2 separate regions of the Homo sapiens genome follow, and region 1 is linked to region 2. Evidence: promoter capture Hi-C in 16 types of primary human blood cells and fetal thymus (Javierre and others, 2016). All regions are on one chromosome and are shown on one strand. The core of a region is centred on a gene start or on the middle of the fragment in contact, and the rest is flanking DNA. Distances in the headings are between cores, read along the strand shown. Region 1 overlaps LOC124902265 (a long non-coding RNA gene). Region 2 holds the start of OR1L1 (olfactory receptor family 1 subfamily L member 1).

Region 1 (3,785 bases), core at 198-2,697, 38 kb after region 2:
CTCTTAATATATCACTTCTCTTTTCAAATTAATATCACCTTACAGTGAAAATCTAGGAAATTAAATCCTCACAGTAGATTCATTTCCACAGCTCTTCATTTATTGCCATTATCACCACTGATATCTAAGGTTCCAATAAGTCAAGCCTAATTCTTCCTCTGTCTATATCGGTGCTTTTCAACTTTCACTGTGCGTTAGAATCACCTGGGAGTTTTAAAAAATTCAGTTTCCTGGGCCTCCACTCTAGAGATTTGGATCCACTTGCTATGAGGTAAAGCTTAGGTGTCAGTATTTTTAAATATTCCCCAAATGATTCTAATACGTAGCTACAGTCAAGACCATTGGCTTAATGTGATGTGTTTTGAAGCTTATCAATTAATCCTCCTAAAATCTCTTGCATCTGAGTAGTAGTAATAGCTTTTATATAGCATTTACTATGTGTCAGACACTGTTTGAGGATCTCTCCACATATTAACTCACTATGTCTCTCAGCAACCTGATGAAGTAATTGCTGTTATTACCCCCATGAGGCACAGAAAGAATAATTTACTTGCTTGGAGTTAACCCTTGATCAGATCATCTGTCTCCAACTAACCTGTGGCTTGTATTCCATATTTCCCCTCCAAATTGAACTATATTCAATTCTCATAACTTTTACCTCATCTAGATCTTTATCACTTCCTATGCAAATTACAAATGGGCCTCCTTGCTGTCAATCTCTTCCATTGTTCATGGTGTTAATCTTACAGAGTGTACTGCATGAATCAGCACATATGCAGCCCATGTGCATTGGATTTGAAGTCATCAGGCTTCATCCACTTTTGTTCAACTCAATCCCATCACTTCCTCATTGTGTCATTTTGATTGAGGTCTTGCATCTGTGAGCCTGGGTTTTCCCAGAGATGATAATACCTGCATTACTTTCTTCACAAGTTAATTATGCTTCTAACATTGTGCATGCAATTTTGCTTTGTAAACTGTTAAGTAACAGAGAAAAGTTGTTATGATTATGGTCCATTTTTCAAGTCCATCAGCATCATTTTTGAAACTGGATTATACTGTTGAAGAGAGAAAAGGCTATGTTATATATTTATTAATTATTTCCCAAAGCAGCTGGTCACAAAGCATGTGCAAATATTCATAAGCACCCATTGACAACTATGTTCTTTTTTGCTGGAAAAGCTCACAGTTTGTACAGCACTGGTGAAAAAGATACCTTTTTAATTTCTTAACAAATTATACATTTTCCTGGAATCCTGCCCCTGCCCCCTCTATTCTCTTCTCTTCTCTGTCTTTCCTTTTCTTCCTCTCCCTCTTCTGTTTCTTCTGCTTCTGCTTCTTTTGACAATTTCCTAGCACAGTGCTTTTCAAACTTTACATGGAACTTTTATTTCTAATAATAATTTTTCATGTAATTCCAATGTTGCTGCTCAGTGGACCACACATTGAGTAAGTAGCAGGGTCTTAGTGTGCTTTATTTGATTAAAAAATTATCCTACCACTAGAATATAAAAATTTTATTCATATGCATATTTTCATAATAACAATTTACATACAGTTTTGCAAAAATGTTTAAAATAATGTCAAAATAATTTTCCATGGTGTTACAGTGTCACTGTTATAAGAATTTTCATGGCTGCTAAATACCTGGTGGTAGGAACCATTTAATTCTTCACCCTCAAGTGTCCATAAAGAGAACCAATCTTACCTCACAGTGCAGAAGTAAACAAACTGGCAGGAAAATTTCTAGTCTAACCCTCACCTACCACTTATACACAGGAAGAGGAGGAATTTTTCTAATTAGTAATCTTTACATTTATTCTGGCTAGCCCTGAGCTTCAATCTTCTGTGTGAGTGGCACAGAACAATCCCACAGCATATCAGAAACATGTGATAGCTCTAAAAGTATACTGATGCCCAGGTCATACTACAGACCAATTAATACAGAATCAGTAGAGGTGGGCCCAGACAGGGATATTTTTGATTCTCTCCAGGTGCAAAGCCAGGATTGGGAACCATGGCTGTATGAACTAATGTGACTGTAAGTAGTCACGCTTCTGCTCTCTCTGTCCAGGTACAGGAAAGGTTAAGGGGAAACTATCCTCAATTGGGAGGAGGAAGAGAAGAGTCACTCTGTTATGAACTGAATGTTTGGGTCCCCCAAAGATCCATATGTTGAAACTTTAACCTCCTAGGTGATAGTGTTAGGAGGTGGGAGCCTTGGGAGATAATCAGGTTGTGAGGGTGGAGGCTTCATGAATGGAATTAGTGCCCTTACAAGAAGAGGTCAGAGAGGGCTTCTTTATCCTGTCTCTCTGGCGCTCCACTGTGTGAGGATACAATGAGAAGATGGCCATCTGAAAACAAGGAAGCCTGCCCTCACCAGACACTAGATCTGCCCGCACCTTGATCTTGGACCTTCCAGCTTCCAGAACTGCAAGGAATAAATATTGTTTAAGCCACCTAGTCTATGTTAATTTGTTATAGCAGCCCTAACTGACAGATTTACTGTTATAATAAAGCTTTGATCCTGATGTGACCCTTTTTGTCTGCTCCGTTGGTTAGAAGCTGAGCGGAACAGGGATGTGATCTCTTAACTTCCTACAATAAACACTGAGTGGGTACACCACTATTTGTTTTCTTCTGTAAATTAATGTTGTCTCCTTTGTGTTGCAATTAATATATACACTTCCTCCATAGTTTGGATTACTTCCAGATGTGGGGTTACTCAGACAGTATATGATCTTATTTTAGCTCATTTTTTCTCATAATTTGTATTGCATTTCACATTTTTTGTTATCTTTACCCCCACTAGATATCTAGAAGCTTATACATCTTACTTTTATTTAACTGCTGGTCATATTTACATTTTTCAAAAACATATCTTTGGATGCCTTCTGACACATACTGTGAGATTTACCATGATTTTTCTGCTATTGCTGCAAATGCATTTGGTTTTTATTTTATTTTTTTAAAATAAGATTAATATTTTAATGTAGCTTTAGGGCTGGGCATGGTGGTTCATTCCTGTAATTCCAGCACTTTTGGAGCCCAAAACAGGAGAATCACTTGAGGCCAGGAGTTCAAGATCAGCCTGGGCAACATAGTGAGACCTCATCTCTATAATAATAAAAAAAAAATTAGCCATGCATGGTGGTGGGCCTCTGTGGGCCCAGCTACTTGGGAAACTGAGGTATGAGGATGGCTTGACCTGGGAGATTGAGGCTGCAGTGAGCTATGATTGTGCCACTGTACTCCAGCCTGGGTGACTGAGTGAGACCCTGTCTCAAAAAATAATAATAAATAAAGTAGCTTTAGGTTCACAGCAAAATTGAGCAAAAAACACAGAGAGCTGCCATATACTTCTTTCTCTCATGTACATAGTCTATTCCACTATCAACATTCCACACCAGAGTAGTGGTATATTTCTTAACATTGATGACCCTACATTGACATACTGTCTCCCTGAATCCATACTTTACATTAGGATTCACTCTTGGTTTAGCACATTCTGTGAGTCTGGACAAATGCGTAGTGGCATTAAAGAATCATACAGAATCATACAGAACAGTTTGACTGCCTTAAAGATTCTCTGTGCTCCCCTATTCATCTCTTCCTTCCCCCTAACCTAGAAGCAGATTATGTAGTCGTTCTGTGTATGAGTTTTTGAGGAACCTCCATACTGTTTTCCATAATGGCTGTACCAATTTATAGTCCCACCAACAGTGAACAAGGTTTCCCTAGTTTTAGCTCTTGCACTTAGGTCTTTGGTCAATTTTGAGTTA
Region 2 (3,971 bases), core at 330-2,829:
CTCCCGGGAAAACAGTGCAGTTGAGTTTGGGTCAAATGAAATTAATGAGAGATTTAAGGTACAGTCAGCTTTGCCAGGTGGGAAGCAGGAAGAATACTGAGATGCCATACTCTTAGGAACCTGACCTGGCACTGATTCACTAAGAGTTATCTAGTGGGATGATTTTATTTGTTGAGACTATGACAACTATAGAAGCCAGGCTTTAATCTTTGAGGAAATGCAGAGGAAGGAGTCACAGTTCTGACATTTATAATGGGAGAAAGAGAGAGACCTCGTTATTGAGGAGCCCCTGGGCTAATATGATGAAGCGACACACACACACATACACACACACATGCACACACGCACGCACACACACACAGAGTAGCTCAAAGACATTCAAGCAGCTTTACATTACTATACAAGAAAACCCAGCTGCATGAATAGGGATACTCAGGAGATTACAGTGATCCAACTTAGTTTGTAGGCATTATATTCAGGAGTAGCTTCAATACATGCAATAAACATTCTTCTGTAAGGAATGAAACACCATCATTGAAGGTACTATCCTTTCAGAATCTAATAATCATTTCAGAATCACATACCCATTAATAACCTATAGTCCAGGGCAAGAGATCTGTGGTATTCTCTTAAGACCTTAGGTCTTTTACTGACATTTCATCCTGTGCATCAACTTTGCCAAACCCTGCTTCATGTCTTTGTTCCTCAGACTATAGATAAATGGATTTAGCATAGGAGTCAGTACGGTGTAGATAATTGTTGCTATTTGATCCTTGACAGTATAGTTGGACAGGGGCTGAAAATAGAGATAGCTAATGCTTCCATAAAACAGGGTCACCACTGTGAGATGAGAGCCACAGGTAGAAAATGCTTTACGCTTTCCAGCAGCTGAAGGAATCTTCAGAACAGTGATGAGGATTCTTAAATAAGAGATGATGATGCATGAAAACGGGGTCATTATGACAGCCAAGCCTTCTGTCATTACTGTGATTTCTTTGACAAAATGGGAGGAACAGGACAATTTTAGCACTGGTTGATCATCGCAGAAAAAGTGATGGATGACATTTGAGGCACAGAAGATGAGCTGATTAGTCAGAAGAATGTGCAGGAGGGAGTGAAAATGTGGAATGCAGAAGGAGAGAACCAGAAGCAGGACACAGCATCTGTGACTCATAATGGTGATGTAGTGGAAGGGATTACATATGGCCACATAGCGGTCAATGGCCATGGCTGCTAGCAGGTAACTGTCTGTGTTTCCAAAGGCTAAGAAAAAGTACATCTGGGTCAGACACTCACTGTAAGAGATGGTCTTTGTCTCTGATAAGAAGTTCACCAGCATCTTAGGGATAATGACTGTCACATAGCAAATGTCAACAAAAGACAGGATGCTTAGAAAGAAGTACATGGGCGTCTGGAGACGAGTGTCTGAGCGGATGGCCAGGATGATAAGCAGGTTTCCTATCACTGTGATAAGGTAGATGGGGAGGAACACAGCAAAGAGCGGCTTCTGATCCTCAGGTCGAGAGGAGAGTCCAAGGAGGATGAATTCAGAGGGTCTTGTTAGGTTATTTCTTCCCATAGTTGTGGGTTCACCTAAAGATAAACTAACACTGTAACAGATTCTTCCAACATCTGATACAATCTGTCCAAAATTTCTCCTTTTATTCTTCTTATCAGCAAAGAAAAAATTTAAAACATTACAATTATCTGGATTGTGGTTTCTTTCCATTAATGTGGGATATTTAGAAATTAATATATATTTTAATCTCAGTTGCCTGCTATAAAGAAACAAATTACAGGGAAACAGAAATGGGAAAAAGAGAAAAGAAGAGATATAGGGCAAGAGGAAGGAGTGAGTGCAAGAGAATTCCCAGAAGGAGAGGAGGGGAATCCTGGAGAAATTATTCTCTTCTTTTTCTGTATATATTTATCGTATTCACGGTTTTCAGTAATTAGTTTATGACAGGTTTAAAAAAGTTTCATCTCTCAATTTCCAGCTGATGGAATAATGATTTCCCTTAGTTCGGATACTTCTGTCTGCATCAGTTATTCTGGAGGCTGGCAATCATGTAAAAAGACATTGAAATATGAGATTACCCAACAGTTACTCCATTTCCCTCATTTTTTAGTGAAACCTTATTTGAGTGAAAGGATAGGTATGAAGAGGCAAAAGATAGACAGAAATAACAGGATAGTAAAAACATTTCTTTTCCTTATTTTTTTTTTTTTGAGACAAGGTCTTGCTTTGTCACCCAGGCTGGAGTGCAGTGGCACAATCTTAGCTCACTGCAACCTCTGCCTCCTGGGTTCAAGCGATTCTCCCCCCTTAGCCTCCTGAGTAGCTGGGATTACAGGCTTGTGCCACCACACCCAGCTAATTTTTGTATTTTTAGTAGAGATGGGGTTTCACCATGTTGGCCAGGCTGGTCACGAACTCCTGATCTCAAGTGATCCGCCCACCTTGGCCTTCCAAAGTGGTGGGATTACAGGCATTAGTCACCGCACCCGGCCAACATTTCTTTTAATGTAACATAAACCTCATTTTTGTTATCCAGCCCCTAAATGCTAAAATCGTCATTGTTAGTGCATGCTTGTCTGTGTTGGTGTAATTCTTTTCCCAATTCCAGTCTCAGTTATATATATGCTTCCCCAAAAAACCACACAGAGAAGGCACCTGATTCTAGACAAGCTTTCAACCCTCATGAAGCTGAAGATTTTCCTCTCTTCCTCCTCTGGGCCTCCCACATGCTGAAGAGATTAAAGACACTCATAGACCCCACCCTCTGTCAAGGGAGCATCCTTTGAGATCATCAAGAAGTCCCTGGAGTTCAGATGGAGAAGACAGCAGAAAACAAGCCAAGAACTATTACGGTTTTGGAGTTTCTTCCCCAAGGAGCCTGGGGAGTGTCAGTGCCTTCTCTCTCTCTCAGAAATCACCCTCCTGACCTAACTCCTTTTGGTGAAAAAGACCCCACCTGTGTGAGGCTGGCTCAAGTGACAGACTTCCTGAGCCTCACCGCTGTGCTGCTTACATTGAAAGACAGAATGTGGGGTTGGAGAACGTTTTCTCGGAATTCGTTGATCATCAAGCTAAAACAACTAGAACATCTTATGCCACTAGTCACTTTCCCATCTCCCAGTGTTAGAAGCAGTCCCTTGCTAGACACTGTTCTTAGAACTTTAAAATATAATAAGCAATAGGGTTAAGACTTTAGACCCTAGGCCTGGAATCTTTACTCTTCTGTCTGAAGCATCCTTAAGTCTACTTATGTATGACCCTTGCTTCTCACTCAGGAAAGCCATCAGGGCATATATATATAGCGTTAGCTATTAATTTTATTACAGTTGTAACACACAAACATTAAGCAAACCAGATCGATATTTTTATTGTTAAAGCAACTTTCAAAAAAAGTGGTTGGGGCCGGGCGCGGTGACTCACGCCTGTAATCCCAGCACTTTGGGGGGCCGAGGTGGGTGGATCACGAGGTCAGGAGATCGAGACCATCCTGGCTAACACGGTGAAACCCCGTCTCTATTAAAAAAATACAAAAAAATTAGCTGGGCATAGTGGCGGGCACCTGTAGTCCCAGCTACTCGGGAGGCTGAGGCAGGAGAATGGCATGAACCTGAGAGGTGGAGCTTGCAGTGAGCCGAGATCACGCCACTGCACTCCAGCCTGGGCAACAGAGTGAGACTCCGTCTCAAAAAAAAAAAAAAAAAAAGAAGTGGTTGGCCACTCTAGTTTATTGTGTGGATCTGTTTGAAAGTAAGAAAGTAATCCTCACTGGAACCATTCTAGAACTCAGATTGTCATGTATTTGAAATGGCTCCTGCTCTCACTACTTGAAATTTAAGGTGATGTTTGTTTTCCTCCTACAAAGAGATGGCTCTAAGCAGGTGGAAGTGATGGGGGAGGGATTCTGACAGATGAGCTGAATGGATGAGAAGGATAAGGCTTCTACTCTCTTATT

The links. Contacts are between HindIII fragments. The CHiCAGO score rates a contact against its expected background, and 5 or more counts as called.
Region 1: a contact is called between a fragment that was not itself captured here and the fragment with the promoter of OR1L1 in region 2, in 1 of 17 cell types (neutrophils). The highest score is 5.0, in neutrophils.

What each region holds. Positions count from the first base shown.
Region 1 is chr9:122,621,665-122,625,449 of GRCh38, reverse strand. All of the region lies in intron 1 of LOC124902265 (a long non-coding RNA gene), which reads right to left. Among named protein-coding and RNA genes, the nearest start is that of OR1Q1, 8.8 kb to the right of the region's middle. The HindIII fragment of the contact is 2,155 bases long and covers 370-2,524 here.
Region 2 is chr9:122,659,324-122,663,294 of GRCh38, reverse strand. OR1L1 (olfactory receptor family 1 subfamily L member 1) reads right to left here and starts at 1,579. Exons shown (of 1, transcript NM_001005236.3): 1 at 647-1,579. The coding sequence starts at 1,579. The coding sequence ends at 647. The HindIII fragment of the contact is 3,812 bases long and covers 1-2,691 here.